Linked DNA regions of Homo sapiens: region 2 is linked to region 1. The links are contacts of gene promoters, found by promoter capture Hi-C in blood cells and fetal thymus (Javierre and others, 2016). All regions are on one chromosome and are shown on one strand. Each heading gives the region's core, a stretch centred on a gene start or on the middle of the fragment in contact. The rest is flanking DNA. Distances are from core to core; before and after follow the strand shown. Region 1 holds the start of S100A12 (S100 calcium binding protein A12). Region 2 overlaps CHTOP (chromatin target of PRMT1).

Region 1 (4,183 bases), core at 1,471-3,970:
GGTTGATCTTAGAGTATGTTCCATGTGCAGATGAAAATAATATATATTCTGTGGTTGTTGGGTGCATTGTTCTATAGATGTCTATTAAGTCTAATTGGTCAAGTGTCAAATTTAAGTCCATAATTTCTTTGTTAGTTTTCTGCCTTGATGATTTGTCTACTGATGTCAGTGGGGTGTTGTCCCCTGCTATTATTGTGTGGCTGCCAAAATCTTTTCTTAGATGCAGAAGTACTTATTTTATAAATCTGGGTGCTCCAGTGTTGGGTGTGTATTTATTTAGGATGGTTAAATTTTCTTGTTAAATCGAACCCTTTATCACTATGTAATGCCCTTCTTTATCCTTTTTTACTGTTGTTGGCTTACAGTCTATCGGATCTGATTCAAGAATAGCAACCTCTGCTCTTTTTTGTTTTCTGTTTGCATGATAGATCTTTCTCCATCCCTTTACTTTGAATCTACAGGTGTCATTACACATGAGACAGGTGCTTGAAGACAGCAGAAGGATGGGTCTTGTTTTTAAATCGAATTTGCCAAGGTATGTGTTTTAAGTGCAGTGTTTAGGCCATTCACATTGGAGGTTAATATTTGTATGTGAGGCTGTGTTCCTGCTTTTTTGATTTCTATTTTTTTTTTTTGAGAGGGAGTCTCACTCTGTTGCCCAGGCTGGAGTGCAGTGGCGCGATCTCGGTTCACTGCAAGCTCCGCCTTGTGGGTTCACGCCATTCTCCTGCCTCAGCCTCCTGAGTATCTGGGACTACAGGTGCCTGCCACCATGCCTGGCTAATTTTTTGTATTTTTAGTAGAGATGGGGTTTCACCATCTTAGCCAGGATGGTCTCGATCTCCTGACCTCGTGATCCGCATTTAGCAACCTCTTGCCTGGATGGCTGGGATCCTGGGCTAGTCCCTTCTCCAGGCAGATGTGAAAAAAAAAAAACATCTCAGGATCCCAAACTTACTAAGCCAGAGGGAAAAGTCAAGCTGGGAAATGGGTCATGCAAGCCTGCCCCCACCCAGGTTGGTTTCTAAATAAGATAGCTACAAAGATAAAAAGCCATACACCAATCTCACAACTTGCCCACAAGGAAATTCCTTGTGAGCCTCAAGATCTTTACCCTAAAACAGTTCTATTGAATTTCACCCTGGCAGTGTAATTGACAGCTTATCTTCACAGGTGTGGGACAAAGGGCAGAACATAAAGTCATCCCTCTGCTCACCCAAGACAAATCCATATCTGATTGCTTCCTCTCCCCTATTTTTGTTATCTTATGTAAAAATGCAGATTCACTGAGCCAGATGAAGGCATAAGTGACTATTTCCTCTACTCCGCTCCCACATGAAAATTGTGTATTCAGTGAAAGATTGATCAAAGACTCAAAAGGATGCAATCACTTGTCTCTTATCTACTGACACATTTAAAAAATATTTCTTCCTCTTCCCCCAATATCCACTGTTTCTCCTTCAAATATTGAAGCCCTCAAAATCATCTTTGGAGAAAGACGTAGACCTACCTCTGGGCACGCATCCTTAACTTTGGCCAAATAAACCTCCTAAAATGATTGAGATTCACCTTGGTCATTGTCATTGATTTACACAAGCCTGATCATCCTGCTCTGGTGGTGTCCTCCTGGGCCTAGTGAAACAAATACTGTCAATGGCTTAACAATGTTGCACTGAGATTGTGTCAGTCAAGGTGACACATGGATCGGAGAGACAGACTTTTGCCTCCAGATCCAGAGAGGTCGGTGGGCACATGAAATGAACTAGCTTTGCTAAGGGGGATATCTGTGTTGTGGGGTAGATGGCAGCACAGGTTCTGGCATGGCCTTGATTGCTCAGCAATCTTATTGACCTCTAGGCATAAACCAAGGGCAGAGTGCTTTTGGATGTCCCTTAGCTTTGGTGCGACATGGGGAATGTACAGATGAGACTTAATCCATTTTGGGCAGGTTTCTGAATCTTGAAGGACCACCTCTCCATGAATCCTGGGCATCTGTTGTCCCTTGCTGCCTCTCTGTGAGTAATAAAGTTGCTTTACTAAAACTCGTGTGAATGTTCTGTCTTACTGAACTCATGAACATGGTAAAGTAACCTAGGCATGGTGAACTTTCTTCACACACAATGATTACCCTACTCCAGCTTTCTAGGTCTTTGTAACAGCCAAGTTAGAAAGTTGGGAAAGCAAAGGGGAGGCATAGTAGCATTGCTCTCTCCTTTTTTGAAAACCTTGGAATCTATTTTGAAAACTGATCCTCTGCTCCAGTGATGAACTTTGCATCCCAGAACGACTTAGGAGGAGGTCTCCCTACCTATCTCCTTAGCTGCATAAAGATCTTTAAGTTGATATTCCATTTGCCAAAACTGAAGAGCTGGTAACCTCATCTGTTAAAACAAGACACTCAGGCTGTAAAGTTTGTTCTCCTAGTCTTTTATTAGGGAGCAGTGGAGTAGAGCTAAACCTGAAACCTGGGCCCTGGCTCAGGGCTAAAAAAGGTTCAGGGCACCCCTGTGCGGGTGGGTGGAGTGGGGGTGATTTTGTTTCAGGCTGAGCAGGAGGGCAAAATTCAGTCTGGGTACAATCTGGGCTGCTCCTGTGGCAGCCTAAGCCACAGGTTTGAAGCTTCTATTGAGCAACAGAGTACTTTACATAAATTGCCTCAAGATGAATCAGAGATTTCTTCACCCAAGGGCTAAGATGAAGCCTGAACTGATTATAAAACCTTCCTTGGCTCAGTGCCCTTCACCACTGCTGGCTTTTTGCTGTAGCTCCACATTCCTGTGCATTGAGGGGTAAGTGCATTTTCCTTGGATGGGTTCTTAGGTGGTCCACAGGGTAGTGACTGCAGGTGACCACTTTGAAATCACAAGGTGTTGGAAACCACAACCCTCCACTTGCCTGAGCACCTCTGGGGTGATATTGCATTTTGGACCCAAGTAGATCAGCTCTTGTTGTGCTATGTAGACTCAGTCCCATGATTTAAGAATGGCTAAGCAGGCCGGGTACGGTGGCTCACGCCTGTAATCCCAGCACTTTGGGAGGCCGAGGCGGGCGGATCATGAGGTGAGGAGATCGAGACCATCCTGGCTAACATGGTGAAACCCCGTCTCTACTAAAAAAATACAAAAAATTAGCCGGGCGTGGTGGCGGGTGCCTGTAGTCCCAGCTACTCGGGAGGCTGGGGCAGGAGAATGGCGTGAACCCGGGAGGCAGAACTTGCAGTGAGCCGAGATCGCCCTACTGCACTCCAGCCTGGGCGGCAGAGTGAGACTCCGTCTCAAAAACAAACAAACAAACAAACAAAAAACCCAAAACAACAACAACAAAAAAAGAATGGCTAAGCAGGGGTGGGTTATGGACCATTTGTGGGGGATATGTGGCCATAGTGCCATCACCTGAGGAAAGCAAACAGCCTGGCCAATCACAGAACCCTTCCCAAGGGACCTTGAGTAAGCAATACCCTCCAAGTTATGCACCCCGGTGGATGAGGTGGTATGGAACATGGGCAACTGAGGCTGATTTTTTTAGACGTTAGACAGTATTATATGTTTTCTCCTCCCCATCCTATCCACACATGAGAAGTTCACCATGGATCAAACAGAGCAGAGACCACAAAATAGATATGGAGGATGTTATGTTTTCTTTAGGCCCTTGATTCAGAAAGAGAGGGGAGAGTGGAGGTTGAGGGGTGGGGGAGAAACTGCCTCTAGACTTCCCTTGTTTCCTTGAAGGTTAACATTAGGCTGGGAAGATGACAAAACTTGAAGAGCATCTGGAGGGAATTGTCAATATCTTCCACCAATACTCAGTTCGGAAGGGGCATTTTGACACCCTCTCTAAGGGTGAGCTGAAGCAGCTGCTTACAAAGGAGCTTGCAAACACCATCAAGGTAGGTGATGCCCCTCTCACTGCAAACTTGCCCATGACCCTGCACTGAGGGGAGTGGCAAGGCCTGGCAGAGGATGGTGGGACAAGGACTGGGGTGGGGTTGGCCCCAGTTTGAGCTCCCAAAGGATGCTCTCCCCGCTGCTGTGGGAGAGGTCCTTTGCTTCCCTCTCTCAATAACTCACTTAAGGCTCTACTCAGTTCCTCTCTCTGAGTCTGTTTCCTCATATGTAAAATGGAGAGAGGCAGGGCACGGGAGGGGTTGAATGAGTGAGCAGAAGAGTACCTTCCAGGTCAAGCC
Region 2 (4,371 bases), core at 1,089-3,588, 260 kb before region 1:
GCAATAGCCCTGAACACAACCAAGCTCCTAGTAAGCCTGGCTGTCCATAAAGCCATCAGTCAATCTGAAAGAAAATAAATTGTATAGCCCCTTCAGGCTTCACCCACAAGTGACTACCAACGTGTATGTGTGTGTTTTCTAATCAACCTCTCAAAAAGATGCTGTGAAGCATTATTAACTTTCTAGCACAAGATCATAAATTGCTTCTCATCAGTGGGGAAGGCTCCAAACATTATGCATCTAGCATAAGTAGGTGTAACCAACCGTAACGGCCTGTCCTGTTACTCCCGATTAACACACAATTATCAGGTTAGAACTGCATTCCACAAGTCTCTTGCGTTCAGTTATCCTGCATATATTAATTCTCCCAAGCTTTGTGCTTTAAAAGAACTGTACAGTGCTGGGAAGTTCTTTACCCATTCCAATCCTTAAGTGCCACCAATACCGGCCTTTAATATTAACAGGGAAGTTAAGGATGTCAACTATACCACTTAGTTTCCCTTCTAGAGGTGTGCTGTGTAAGGCAGCCTCTATAGCTACATGTGGCTATTTCAATTATTTTTATTTTGAGATACAGTCTCGCTCTGTTGCCCAGGCTGAAGTGCAGTGACACGATCTTGGCTCACTGCAACCTTCGTCTCCCAGGTTCAAACAATTCTCCTGCCTCAGCCTCCCGAGTAGCTGGGATTACAGGAGCTGTCATCACGCCTGGCTTATTTTTGGTGGAGACGGGGTCTTGTCATGTTGGCCAGGCTGGTCTTGAACTCCTGACCTCAGGTGATCCACCTGCCCAGGCCTCCCAAAGTGCTGGGATTACAAGTGTGAGCCACCATACCCAGCCTAAATTAAAAGCAAATTTTACTTATTTTCTTGAGACAGAGTCTCACTGTCACCCAAGCTGGAATGCAGTGGTGCCAACTCCACTCACCGCAACCTCCACTTCCTGGGTTCAAGAGATTCTCCTTAGCCTCTTGAGTAGCTGGGATTACAGGTATGCGCCACCATGCCCGGCTTTTTTTTTTTTTTAGTAGAGATGGGGTTTTGCCACATTGGCCAGGCTAGTCTCAAACTCCTGACCTCAAGTGATCCGCCTGCCTTGGCCTCCCAGAGTGCTGGGATTACAGGCCTGGCCTAAAATTAAATTAAAAAAAATTAAGCTCCTTAATTGCACTAGTCACATTTAAAGTTTTCAATAGCCACATGTGACTAGTGGCTACTGTACCGGAGAGCAAATACAGAACATTTCCATCATTGTAGAAAGTTCTGGCTGGGCACGGTAGCTCATGCCTGTAATCTGAACACTTTGGGATACTGAGGCAGGCAGATCACTTGAGGTCAGGAGTTCAAGACCAGTCTGGCCAACATGACAAAACTCCGTCTCTACTAAAAATACAAAAATTAGCCGGGTGTGGTGGCGGGCGCCTGTAGCTGAGACAGGAGAATCGCTTGAACCCGGGAGGCGGAGGCTGCAGTGAGTTGAGATTGCACCACTGCACTACAGCCTGGGTGACAGAGCAAGACTCCGTCTCAAAACAAACCAAACCAAACCAAACCAAAAACATAAAAAAATTCTATTTAATAGTACTACTCTGGATAGGGACTACTTCCTGCAGAGCCTATACTTAAAGCTTCTTGTTGAAAGGTCCTTTGGAATGATCTGTCAGAGATTCATCTTCAGCAACTTCCATTTACTCTTGGAAAATGGTGCCTTTTGCTGCTTTCCTGAGTCAGGGAGGAATCCAGTCACTCCAAGGCTTAAGGTAGCCGAAGCAGACACCCTTGTTTATTTTTGGTCAGTGAGCCCAATGGTTCAGGGTGGGGGTGTAAGGGTGTTATATTTAACTGCTGAATTTATGCATAGCCATGCAATGCTACCAAAGCCCTTACAGTTGCATGGCACTGCCCTCCAGACGCCCAGCCACAGCTTGGACATATCCTTCCACAGCCACTGTCCGGACTTGCATATAAATTCTATGAATAATAAAGAGCAGGTTTTATTTCAGGTCTGAATAGGATTATCTCTCACTGTAAATTTGAAAAAGAGAACCCCTAACTCAAATTACTCAGTATTCTTGCTCCACTTTACTGGTAAAACTTTAGGTGCTGTGGAAATGAGGGTCACTCTACTCTGTATATTTTAGCATTGAAAACCTTTGACTGCTGGGCGCGGTGGCTCAAGCCTGTAATCCCAGCACTTTGGGAGGCCGAGGCGGGTGGATCACGAGGTCAGGAGATCGAGACCATCCTGGCTAGTATGGTGAAACCCTGTCTCTATTAAATATACAAAAAAATTAGCTGGGTGTGGTGGCGGGCACCTTTAGTCCCAGCTGTTCGGGAGGCTGAGGCAGGAGAATGGTATGGACCCGGGAGGCGGAGCTTGCAGTGAGCCGAGATCGTGCCACTGCACTCCAGCCTGGGCGACAGAGCAAGACTCCGTCTAAAAAAAAAAAAAAAAAGAAAACCTTTGACTAAGGCCATGCAAACTCCCTGCACTATGGGAAAAAGAATAAAATTATTTCCCTGTTGGGTAAATCATTTAACAGAGAGTAAAGGATGCTGTGAGATTATCTAAAGCTGAAATAAAGTTTCTTTGTGGAATAAGCCATTAATCTATGTTAAGGGTTAAGGATCAGAAAACAAAAGATTAATACTCATTGGTAACAGAAACAGGCCACATAGATGGCAAACTCCCTAAAAGAGAAAGACAGTAAAAAGTTACTTATTGGTACCTGCCAAAATTGGAATTCTCTGAACTTCTCTTTCTTCCAGAGAAGTTTCAGCTTTTTGCCCTGAGCCACTTTGCAATCATCCATCACGTCCTGACAGCCTCAGTGGACTCCCTCACAGAGATCACCAGCTGCTTCTGGAGCATTAAGACCCATTCTCTCACCTGCTTAAGTTTTAATGCTGCCTGGACAGAGGGTCTATTCTCCATCTGCTGGGCCAGTCTTCTGTTTCTGGCACTGGCTAGCTGCTGTTGTTGCTGCATCGAAGCCCGAATATTCACTGGCGTCGGCTGTTTGTTCTTCAGCATATTAGTAAAGCTTCAAGGTCGAACAAAATGGATGTTTAAATAAAAGCTTTATTACAAACATTTATTGGCATTTTCATGGCTTGCTAGACCAGGAGCTCCAGATCCCACGAACTTTTAAGTAAAGTGGTACACTTAGATCAAGGCTGATGTGGGTTAAAGACTCCTCTGTTTCCACAAACTTGCAAGAATCAGAAACTTAGAAATGCAGCTAAGTGCAGCACATTCAACCAAAAGTGATAACGAGGGCTCAGGTAACGGCTTTTAGAGAGGTGGAAGGTATGAAAAACACGCAATAAGCAGATATGACAAGAGACAGAAGATATAGTTTCAAAGACAAATGAAGAAAGCCTAAACCTTGGGGGATCCGAGGTGCATTCTAAGGCCAAATATGAGGAAGGATTAGAGCACCTTCAAAGCTCACAGCAATGAACATACTCTCATAAATTACAGGAGTGTATCACATTTTAAAATATATGTCACTAACATGCAAACATAAATATTATGCAAACATAAATAATTAGCTTATCATAGCCAAAGAGATAAGGAGAGAAGCACATATGCCTCAGAAGAGGCAAAAATAGACATTAAGTAAATTTCAGTGGTCGAAAGTCAACTTAATGAAATCACTGATCAAAGGCATTCTTTTTTTTGAAACGGAGCCTCACTCTGTCCTCTGTTGCCCTGGCTGGAGTGCAGTGGCAGGATCTTGGCTCACTGCAACCTTCGCCTCACGGGTTCAAGTGATTCTCCTACCTCAGCCTCCTGAGTAGCTGGGATTATAGGCACACGCCACCACGCCCAGCTAATTTTTCTATTTTTAGTAGAGACAGGGTTTCACCATGTTGGGCAGGCTGATCTCAAACTCCTGACCTCGTGATCCGCCCGCCTCAGCCTGCCAAAGTGCTGGGATTACAGGCATGAGCCACCGCGCCTAAACAAAGGCACTCTTAATGAACAAAGTTGTCAGAGATAGAAACTGCCTTTGAATATCTTTACTTTTCTTAGTCTCCAATCATCACTTTTTCTGACTCCAAGTAGTTACTTTTCAAAGTTACATCAGTTTGATCATTTATGAGCCTGTGAAGAGACTCATTATTTCTGTCAAGGAAGTATAATGGAATGGAAGAGAAGAACACTTAACTGTAGAAGAATCCAAAACAAAACCAAACTAAAAGCAGAATGGAAAGAAAGTGAAATGGAGCAAAGCGAGTGCCTCTTACAAGGCCCAAGAATGACATTCAAGGGCCTTTGGACATATTCATGGCTTGCTACCTGCCTCTTACAGGCCAGACACAACACTGCTGGCCTTGGACTGGGCAGCAAGCCTACTGTAGCCA

The links. The method cuts DNA at HindIII sites, captures the fragments that hold promoters and counts their contacts. A CHiCAGO score of 5 or more calls a contact.
Region 2: a fragment that was not itself captured here is called in contact with the fragment with the promoter of S100A12 in region 1 in 2 of 17 cell types (neutrophils and monocytes); the score reaches 7.5 in neutrophils.

Annotation. Positions count from the first base shown.
Region 1 is chr1:153,374,158-153,378,340 of GRCh38, reverse strand. S100A12 (S100 calcium binding protein A12) reads left to right here and starts at 2,720. Exons shown (of 3, transcript NM_005621.2): 1 at 2,720-2,789; 2 at 3,729-3,886. The coding sequence starts at 3,749. The HindIII fragment of the contact is 5,829 bases long and covers 2,622-4,183 here.
Region 2 is chr1:153,636,968-153,641,338 of GRCh38, reverse strand. CHTOP (chromatin target of PRMT1) reads right to left here. Exons shown (of 6, transcript NM_015607.4): 3 at 2,891-3,044. Among named protein-coding and RNA genes, the nearest start is that of CHTOP, 5.1 kb to the right of the region's middle. The HindIII fragment of the contact is 1,416 bases long and covers 1,631-3,046 here.